Linked DNA regions of Homo sapiens: all the other regions are linked to region 3. Evidence: promoter capture Hi-C in 16 types of primary human blood cells and fetal thymus (Javierre and others, 2016). All regions are on one chromosome and are shown on one strand. The core of a region is centred on a gene start or on the middle of the fragment in contact, and the rest is flanking DNA. Distances in the headings are between cores, read along the strand shown.

The links. Contacts are between HindIII fragments. The CHiCAGO score rates a contact against its expected background, and 5 or more counts as called.
Region 1: a contact is called between a fragment that was not itself captured here and the fragment with the promoter of SFT2D1 in region 3, in 1 of 17 cell types (M1 macrophages). The highest score is 5.4, in M1 macrophages.
Region 2: a contact is called between a fragment that was not itself captured here and the fragment with the promoter of SFT2D1 in region 3, in 1 of 17 cell types (neutrophils). The highest score is 5.2, in neutrophils.

The regions. Positions count from the first base shown.
Region 1 is chr6:166,596,168-166,599,513 of GRCh38, reverse strand. All of the region lies in intron 1 of RPS6KA2 (ribosomal protein S6 kinase A2), which reads left to right. Among named protein-coding and RNA genes, the nearest start is that of RAMACL, 11 kb to the right of the region's middle. The HindIII fragment of the contact is 3,591 bases long and covers 1-3,346 here.
Region 2 is chr6:166,203,551-166,206,871 of GRCh38, reverse strand. No RefSeq gene overlaps it. Among named protein-coding and RNA genes, the nearest start is that of LNCDAT, 37 kb to the right of the region's middle. RefSeq lists an enhancer at 280-1,479. The HindIII fragment of the contact is 433 bases long and covers 1,083-1,515 here.
Region 3 is chr6:166,341,158-166,344,400 of GRCh38, reverse strand. It overlaps SFT2D1 (SFT2 domain containing 1), which reads left to right and starts at 1,856. Exons shown (of 8, transcript NM_145169.3): 1 at 1,856-1,982. The coding sequence starts at 1,920. It overlaps LOC100289495 (a long non-coding RNA gene), which reads right to left and starts at 1,770. Exons shown (of 2, transcript NR_040022.1): 1 at 1,254-1,770. RefSeq lists an enhancer at 1,031-1,924 and a silencer at 1,986-2,145. The HindIII fragment of the contact is 4,850 bases long and covers 1-2,390 here.

The DNA.
Region 1 (3,346 bases), core at 501-3,000, 260 kb before region 3:
GGAGGGTGCCCTCAGAACTGCCTTCTTGGTTGACATGGATTGCTTAATTACTTCCCTTTGGTTGAGGCAGCTATTAATCTGCCAGTCATCATTTCTTCATTTTATTCGGTGTATATAATGAGAAAACCTTGTTAAATTCTTCCTGAAAACCAGAGACACTGTTTACCATTTTCCCCACACCTACCCATCTGGTAACCTCATCAGAGGAGAGAAGGAAATCAGCACATATTTCATATGACTCTCCTGATTATTGTTGATCACTGCTTCCTCCCTAAGACGTTGTCAAGCTAATTTCCAATCTCCCTGTCTGTAGTTAGCAGAATTTACCTTTCTAAAAACCTCTACCTGCTTTCAGTCCTTGATACCAATCCAGTGCTTCTTCAAACATCCTCAAGAGTGGTTGTTTACATATGGCACGCACCAGGTGACTCCTGCTCTGGATTCTTTAATTATTTCTTAGGATGAAATTTATCTGGAGAGATTTTGATCACCGAACCTGGGACAATAGTTACAGACCTGGACAAGCAGCAGTAACCCCTGAGACAGGCCGGGCTGGGCCCTGCCTGGGCATCGGACACCCCACTGTTTCAACCCCACCTGGAGGACCACTTGAGAGTGAGCCGTGTCTGATGGGGATGAGCTGAGTCCTGATCAGCTGTGGAATACAAGGATGGAGGCAGGAAAGAAGGGAGGTAGGAAAGAGCGGTGCTGTGTGCTTATACAAAGAAAAGCCTTGTTGTTTCCTGGACTGCCACAAAATCTACCAGAGTTGGGACATGATTTCTCTTCCTGACTCCATTATCTCAGAGAAAACAGGCTTCCTATTCCTGACGCAACGGGAAAGAATGTTGTATAAACAGAGGCGCTTAGAGCCAAAATGTTTAGAGCGTCTACCCACACCAACCACCCGTGACTCAGTGCATGATGGGCAGACTCCAGGCTGTTTCACCAAATGTCTTCAAGTTCAGAGGGTCATCTGATTCCAACTTCTCCATCCAGAATTGGTTTTGCAATGCCATTAGCTCCAAATGTGGCTTTTTATTCCTTTATTGTCCCTGCCTATCTACTTGGTAGAGAATCCAGTCTTAATTTTGCAAACCATTTAATTCATCCATAAGCCTCTCTAAACCATTCCTGTAAGAACATAAATGCCTATAAGAAAATAAAAGCGTGGTCTGTCTGCCCCCATTGCCTTTTGGAGGGATTCCTTCCACACCAAGTTAGGGAGGAGAACAAGGCATTATCCTGAACAGCAGGGAGGGAAAGCATCAAAGGAAATCAGAACGGTTCAACAAATGCCGTCCTGTGCTCCAATTTGGCCCCACAATGTCTTCTCTTCCTTTCTCCCCGCTCTCTCCTGAGAAGTGTTTTGTTTACTTTCTGCCTGAGAGGTGAAATAGTAAGGAAAATAATAGCAACAATTATGGTCATCAGGAGCATGTGAAATCAAACCATGCCTCTGTGCAATTTGCAGGTGTCTCTGGGACTGCTCCTGGACCCATTTAGATGGGAACAGAGTAGAACATTTTAATAGGGAAGAAAATACCATTTGCACAAAAGCTCTGTCTGTGGCATGACTGCAGTGGTTCTGACAGGAACTGGGTGATGAAAACCAACAATAGCACGGTGCCCGGCTGGGGCTGGCACACCAGAGAGCAGAGTCCTGCTCTCTAGAGCATCTCACCAGCCCGTGGACTCCGGAAATCTGTTTCTATTCTCTTCTCGATGATGCCGTCACCCATTGGATATTTCTTGTCTCTTGATGTTTAATAATATGAAATGGTCATTTTGAGGCTACTAGTTAAATCCATGAAAAATTCATGAAAATTTTGGCTTGCCTACAGTGTCTATTAGAGCTGCAATCTTGCATGTTATCAGCTCCATGATCATTGCATTCCAGAACGATTGTTTCCAAAATGGCTTACGTTTTCTTTATGTGTTAAATGTCTCCTCTATCTTTATTCCAATCCTCCTACCTTTTTTCCCAGAAGAAGAGATGCTCTTCCTCCTTCTGAAGCCAGTTCCTCCTCCACCCTGCAGCCCAGCACCCGCTCCACTGCCGTCCTTTTCCCCAGCTCTGTGTCCTGTAGAGATGCTCAAATGGCCCCCATGGCCTGGCTGCCAGGTGTTGGCTTCACATTTGTCTCTTGTCCTTTTTTTCTCCCTTCAGTGACTGCCACCTCCTCAGAGATGAGCTGTCTCCACCTGTTGAGTCCCATTCGTCCTCGGGGGCTGTGTCCTTTGGGGCCTCACGGGGTGCCTCGCCACCAGCTCTGCCCTCTAGAGACTCCATTCTTTCGACTTATCCCGTAGCCTATGTCCCCAGCCACCTGTGCCCCTCTCTTGCCTCCCATGGCGTGCACTATCTTGTTTCTTTTCCTTTCTCTCCATCTCACTTGGTCTCGTTTTCGTGGGTGAACACCATGGGCTGGTTCTCAGCATCTGTGGCCCCTCCCCGTGTCCTTTCTCCATCTGTTCCCATGACTGTGCCTGACATCACATGTGCCCATCACCCAGGCCTCTCTCTGCAGCTCCCAACTGGCGCATCTGTGGTGAATCACCACAGTCCCCTCGAAATCCCCCTCACCCCTACATAGCTTGTCCATCCACGGTGGGACAGCTCTGCTGGTCCCACAGTAAAGATTTCAGTGGTGGAAACCCCCCACCCTGTTTGTCTCCCATATTCAGGCCCAGTGTTTCCTCACAGAGTGTATTAGTCAGGGTTCTGTAGAGGGACAGGACTAATAGGATAGATGTATATGTGAAAGGGAGTTTATTAAGGAGAATTGACTCACACCATCACAAGGTAAAGTCCCACTATAGGCCATCTGCAAGTTGAGGAGCAAGGAAGCCAGTGGTGGATCAGTCTGAGTCCCAAAACCTCAAAATTAGGGAAGACTACAGTGCAGCCTTCAGTCTGTGAGCGAAGGCCCGAGAGCCCCTGGCAAACCACTGGTGTAAGTCTTAGATTCCAAAGACTGAAGAACTTGGAGTCTGATGATCGAGGGTAGGAGGCATCTAGTACAGGAGAAAGATGAAGACCAGAAGACTCAGCAAGTCTGCTCTTCCATCTTCTCCTGCCTGCTTTATTCTAGCTTCACTGGCAGCTGATGAGATGGTGCCCACCCAGATTGAGGGTGGGTCTGCCTCTCCCAGTTCACCGAGTTGAATGTTAACCTCCTTCGGCAGCACCCTCACAGACACACCCAGGAACAATACTTTGCATCCTTCAATCCAGTAAAGTTGACAGTCAGTATTAATCATCACACAGAGTATTATTGACCATAAACTCAAACCGACCTCCTTCCTTGATCATCACGTGGACCTTACCGCCTATCTTCCCCAT
Region 2 (3,321 bases), core at 50-2,549, 140 kb after region 3:
ATTATCTCCTACCAAGTCCCTCCCACAACAAGTGGGAGTGATGGGAGCTACAATTCAAGATGAGATATGGGTGGGAACACAGCCAAACCATACCAGAAACAGTACCTTTTTTTTTTTTTTTTTTTTTTTAAGATCTATAAATATAAAGGCAGTGTAGAAACCTCAGGGAGCCTGGACTTGGCACAGCCTAGAACTAACACAGTTCAGATTCGCTTTGCCTGGAGGACTGGAAGGATGGGCCTGCCTGGGGTATGAGAGACCAGAGCTTTCTGGCAAAAATCCTCAGCCCAAGGTTAGGCACAGTGCAAATTTGGTCCCAGGACATCAGGCCAGTTTGAGAGGCCCAAAGAGCTATGCCTGAGTCCCAGAGGCCAGTGGATTAGTTCAAGAACATTAAACCAAGGTGTGTGTTGCAAGAAATTTCGCTAAGGTGTTTGTTGCAAAAGATACATTAAAATCTTAAGTCCTGGGGCCTGTGAAGTGGCCTTCTTTGGAAATAGGATTTTTGCAGATGACATCGAGATGTGAGCTAGGATGAGGTCATCAGGGTGGGTCCTAATCCAACATGACTGATGTCCTTACTGAAGAACATCTGAAGAGGAGGAGAGACACACGGGGTCATGGCTGTGTGAAGACGGAGGTGGAGACCGGGCTGACGCACCAGCAATGCCAGAAGAGGGAAGAGGGGAGGGAAGCTTCCCAGGAGGGAGCACGGCCCTGCCGATACCGTGATGTCAGGCTTCTGGGATCCAGAACTGTAAGGGAACAAATTTCTGTTGTTTAAAGGCACCCAGTTTGTGATGCTTTACAACACACCACAAATGATGGATGACGAATACAGCATCCATCATAACACAGAAGCCCAGTGACCCAGCAGCCGCGGTGGCGCGCTCTGGCAATTTCCAAAGAGACCGCTGCTAGCGTCCCAGCAGTTATATCCACACTGAGTTAGACACTAATGGGGTTTGGGACACAAGACCCTGAAATCTGGCACCTTGCATATTCCCGCAGTTCACTGCCATCAGGTGACACCCGCTCTGTGTACTCACCCTTTTCCACCACTGTCCGCTCTCCATCAAGCTTAGCCTAAAGATACACAGGCCTCCCTGTGCCTTTTGGTCTTCATATCTAAAGGTGCCTGTGTCATGTAAAAATTACATACAATGAAATAAATTCGCCTGCTTTTCTCTTGTTTATCTGTCTTTTATGATAGGTGTCTCAGCCATAAACCTAGCAATGGGTGAGGAAATAACTTTTTCTTCCCTTACAGAACTGGATTCAGCACCGCAAAACTGAAACCGCCTCCAGAAAAGAGCCTCTTGCGAGAACGCAGAGGCTTGCCTTTCTCTCCTGTCGCTGAGAGTCCCTGGCTGGCTTGGGGACCCCATGGTGCTGCTCGCTCTTGCCTGTTGCTGGTGGGGGCTTCCTGCTCCTGACCTCATACTACCTCTGCGGCAGAGGGCCTGAGACAGAGGGGATCCCTGCCCATCCCGCCAGCCCTCTTCTCAGGAAGCTTCTGGAATCTCCACCCAAAAACTTCACTGACATTCTGCTGACCAGAGCGTGGTCATATGGCCACCCCATCTCACAAGGGGGCTGGAAAAATGCATTTTCTTCAGCTGCGCACCTTATACCCCACAGCAGTACCTACGGGCCTGGTAGTGAGGAAGAGGATGGGTAACGGAAGTTAGGTCAGCAGCTAGCAGTGTTGGCCACCAGGGGAGAGTCACAGCCACTTTCTGGGCCTGGTGGTGACTTCACATTGGTTGCCAGGAGGATGATTTTGAAGATACCGTAAGTGTTAGTAATAGTAACGCTGCTACCGGAGTGCTAGGAATGATGGCAGCTGGGGCTGGAGCTCCTGCTGAGCTGGGGAGAGAGAGCCTGGCTGTGCTTTCTTGTTTCAGTTTGTTTTGCTTTGTTTGTTTTACCTGCAGGCCTGTCGAGCCCTCTTGTAACTAATCTTCCAGTGTCTGCCGCTGAAGGTGTCCAGTAGCTAACTTCAGGACTCTGTCATCCCCTCTTCATTTGGGGGAATTTCCTCTACTTACTTGAAACATTCAGATTTTCCACTGTCAGTTTTGGGTGAATGAACTATGCTTATTACTTTTAATAAAAGTCTTCAAAATCTCATCAGTGCCATGTCTTTTTCTTAGGCCTTGAAAATCATTCTTGGTTTATTTTTGAGAAATATTTAGGCCAGGTGTCGTGGCTCATGCCTGTAATCCCAGCACTTTGCGAGGCTGAGGCAGGAGGATTACTTGAGGCCAGGCTGGGCCACATATCGAGATTCCGTCTCCACAAAAACTAAAAAATTAGCCAGATGTCATGGTGCATACCTGTAGTCCCAGCTACTTGGGAGACTGAGGTGGAAGGATGACTTGAGCCCAGGAGCTTGAGGCTGCAGTGAGCTATGACACTGCCAGTTCACTGCAGTATGGGCAACACAGTGACACCCTGTCTCAAAAAAAACACCAACATTAATTTAAAAAAATTCAAATAGTCATGAAAATCGTTCTTGATTTCAGTTTTAGAGTGCTGCTTATTATTTTGAAAGACTTAATCTTAGTTAAATTGTATGTTCTGTTTCCAAATTTCTCCTTACTTGTAACTTAAAATTGATGTCTCCTTTATATATTGAAATGTCGTTTCTGAGATATTTCAGTCGTGAGATTTTTTTCGGTTTGGTGCTATTCTGGTGTCTAATAATAATCACTTAGGAAAAAACACAAAGATAATTTCCCAGGCTTAAGTGTTTTTTTTCTTTAGTAGATTCAATGTACCTTTAATTTCACTAAACACATATTGAGAGATTCACTTCCCATTTTTACACAGAGCCCGTCATAATGTCCTAATTAATAAGTGTGCTCCATATACTTGGGACTAAAAGAACAGAAAATTTTCCTGTTTGGATAAAAGTCCTGATGCTCATGTTTGACAGCGATACATGCTATTTTGGGGAATTTAACAGGATGAAGCGATGCCTAGCGACCCGAGGCTGCATTTTTTTCTGCCTTGTTTGACGCACACACACCCTGTCTTGTTCCCATACCAGCCCTGCCCCGCAGCAGCCGCATGTCCGCTGTGCATTTTGTGTTTGTCGTGTACCTGTGCAAAGCCCATGTTGTTCTGTCTGCATGTTCTTGTCTCCTCTGTTCCTTTTTTCCATTCAGTGCCTCCAGGTCTCTATGTCTGTCTCGAATCCGATGCTTCTCAGCACTGCACCATCATCTGTGGTGAGGCTTCCACTCCATTTTCCTTATCTGTTGTCCCTGGATGGTTTAGATTTGTGAAAGGGGCATTAAAGACAGGTCAGAGTAA
Region 3 (3,243 bases), core at 607-3,106:
AGAAGGTCAGCACAAGATACAGATCATAAAGACCTTGCTGATGAAACAGACTGCAGTAAAGAAACCGGCCAAATCCCACCAAAACCAAGGTAACAAGAGAGACCTCTGGTCGTTCTCATTGCTACACTCCCACTAGCGCCATGGCAGTTTACAAATGCCATGGCAATATCACGAAGTTAGCCTATATGGTCTAAAAAGGGGAGGCATGAATCCACCCCTTGTTTAGCATATCATCAAGAAATAACCATAAAAATGGGCAACCAGCAGCCCTGGTAATAGACAGCCCTGCTCTGCCTATGGAGTAGCTATTCTTTTGTCCTTCTACTTTTTTTTTTTTTTTTTGAGACGGAGTCTCGCTCTGTCGCCCAGGCTGGAGTGCAGGGGCGCGATCTCGGCTCACTGCAAGCTCCGCCTCCCGGGTTCAAGCAATTCTCTGCCTCAGACTACCGATGTTCCTCTACTTTTTAAATAAACTTGTTTTCACTTGCCCTGAATTCTTTTTGCGCAAGATCCAAGAACCCTCTTTTGGGGTATGGATCCGGACCCCTTTCCCGTAACACTTACGGACATACTCTCTTATTCAACAGAAACATAGTTTTATTCTATAGATTTTACAATCTATTTTCTGACCTTTTAAAGTTAAGGACATAAGGATAAGACTTCTCATATTAGTATGAACAGGCCACATAGAAATATCTTCTGCCTAAAGGAAAAGGATGCTGAGCATTGGACCGTTTCATCACAAGAAGGCGCGACTTGCTTTCCTAGGGTTCCTGTGGTATTTGTTTTTATCTAATTGAGTTTAGATAAAATCTCTACTGAGGCAGTAGGATGGACAATGAAACTTTTTGAGGATCCACCTTTTAACTGAAAGATTTTAGGGAGGAAATGGAGTGGGCAAAGTAATCAAAAGAACAGGCATTCTCATTACCATCTTACCAAGCCTAGAAGCAAACAGAAGAGCAAAACCTATCACTTAATGACTTCTGGAGACCATATTAGACAGGCAGCCCTGATTTTTAATCTCCTTTCTTAGCATGGTGGAAAATGAGAGAGAGAAAAATGCCACTTCCCCATTTCTTAGTGTTTGTTCATCCAGCACGAGCCGGAGAACAGTAAACGCTTGTTCAATGGTTTCACTGTTCACACAAAACTGGAAAAATGGGTTGCATTAGCTATTCCTTTTATAAATAAGATTTCACTCTTTCAAACTCCTAGCTGACCAGTGAACTGAGTAAAGAAATAGCTCTCACAAGGGCAAAGGAGTGAGGCAGCCTCTTGCTATTTCTCCTGAGACGGTCTGAAATACAGCTCCTCGCTTTAATCCTGAGGCAGGTGTTTGTGTCTCCGGATGAGGACACCCAGCTGGGAAGGCTAGCGACGCCCCCAGGGCCACCTCATGGGTGGCAGGGCGCTCTTCGGAGCACGGCCACCTGCCCGCAGGAGCCCTCCGCTCTCCGATTCCAGGCGAGGGGAGGCGCATTCGGGGCCTCGACTTCTGGGAACCCGGGGTGCCGCGGACCCGCCCAGCAAGGCCCCTCGCGGGGCCCGGAGGACGCCAAGTGCAGGGTTCAGTGGTCGTGCCCCAGTCGGGTCTACACTCAATGGCTGTGCGCCAGCTGTGGGCAGGGGGTCCACACCCGCGCTGTGTCCCCGCGCGTTACCACGGCGCACCTCGCGGACAGTGGGAAGGGATAGCCCCACCATCAGCGCCCACTCCGCGGACTTCACGGACCACTACCGGGTCCGAGAGAAAGGCTGGTGAGCATGCGCGCATTGCTACGGCGGCCGCGCTGACGCACAGGAAGCGGGCGGGACCGGACTTCCGGCTGGTCTGTGGGGTTTCGGGTTCGGGGTTTCCTGGTGGGCGTCAGGGGCAGGCAACAGAGTGGCGGCCGCTACGGCCCTGTAACAGGGCCATGGAGAAGCTGCGGCGAGTCCTGAGCGGCCAGGACGACGAGGAGCAGGGCCTGACTGCGCAGGTAGCGAACTTGCGCCCTCGTCCAGTCCCGGGGCTGCCCGCTGGCCCCGGCCGCACTGAGGACCGGCCGAGCGGGTGGGGTGGGTGCGAGGCCGGGGGTCTGGGACTCCTCTGCCCGGCTGGTTGATTTAGGAGGGCTCCGCCTGCTTCCTGGGTAGAATTTGAGAACTTTCCAGTTTTCCATGCGGTCTACTTAAACCCACTTTGAGGCCCCCCCCCGACTCTCCCATCTGGCCTTCTGACTTAGGAATCCGCTAACGTCTGCCCTCGCTTTCCCAAATAATCCATCGCTCCCACGTACTATTTGGTTTTCTGAGCCTGGTGCGGGGTCTGGCCTCGGGCTGTGCAGCGTAAGTAGCTATGCAGGGCATTTATCCTGCAAGCTGCAGTGAGCCGAGACCCTAAAGCTTGTTGCATCTGTTTGTCTTTGGAGGTAAAGGTGGTGTTATGTGTGTGTTTGCTGGGGGGTGGTCTTTTGGAAATAGGGAGACTGGAGGAAAAATAAACAGGACATTGGTAAGTGAAATAATATTGAATTAAAATTTTTCTGTTAAGGCAGTGAGCCCTGGTAAGAGATTTTTTTTTTTTTCTTAATAAAAGCCCTTGTGTCTGCGCCTTACCAGCGAGACTTGATAAGGGTTACTTCCTCCAGCAAGAAGGTTAAAAGTAGCAGTGGAGCAGGAACTGCGGTGTAAGTTTTTTTGTTATTGCATGCGATTATATTGCACGTTATTGTGTGCTGTCGCAGAAGTTGGACGTTTAAAATTGAATTGTATTTCATAAGGATCTTCTATTTGTCTCTCCTGACTTCCTTGTCATTATACTTACTCAGCACTTGGTGTGGGTAGAGTTCTGGGCTACAGTTTTGGGTTCAGAGAGTGTAAGACAAGTATCTGTTCTCATTGCACTCTGTAACTCTGTATATTACCACAGCCACATGTGGCCAATGAATTTTTTTTTTTTTTTTTTTTAGATGGAGTCTTGCTTTGTCGCTCAGGCCTGGAGTGCAGTGGCGTGATCTCGACTCGCTGCAACCTCTGCCTCCCGGGTTCAAGCAATTCTCCTGCCTCAGCCTCCTGAGTAGCTGGGATTACAGGCACCTGCCACCATGCCCTGCTAATTATTTTGTGTTTTTAGTAGAGATGGGGGTTTCACCATGTTGGTCAGGCTGGTCTCGAACTCCTGACCTCAAGTGATCCGCCCACCTTGACCTCCCAAAGTGCTTGGATGACAGGCTTGAGCCACTGCGCCTGGAGCAATTA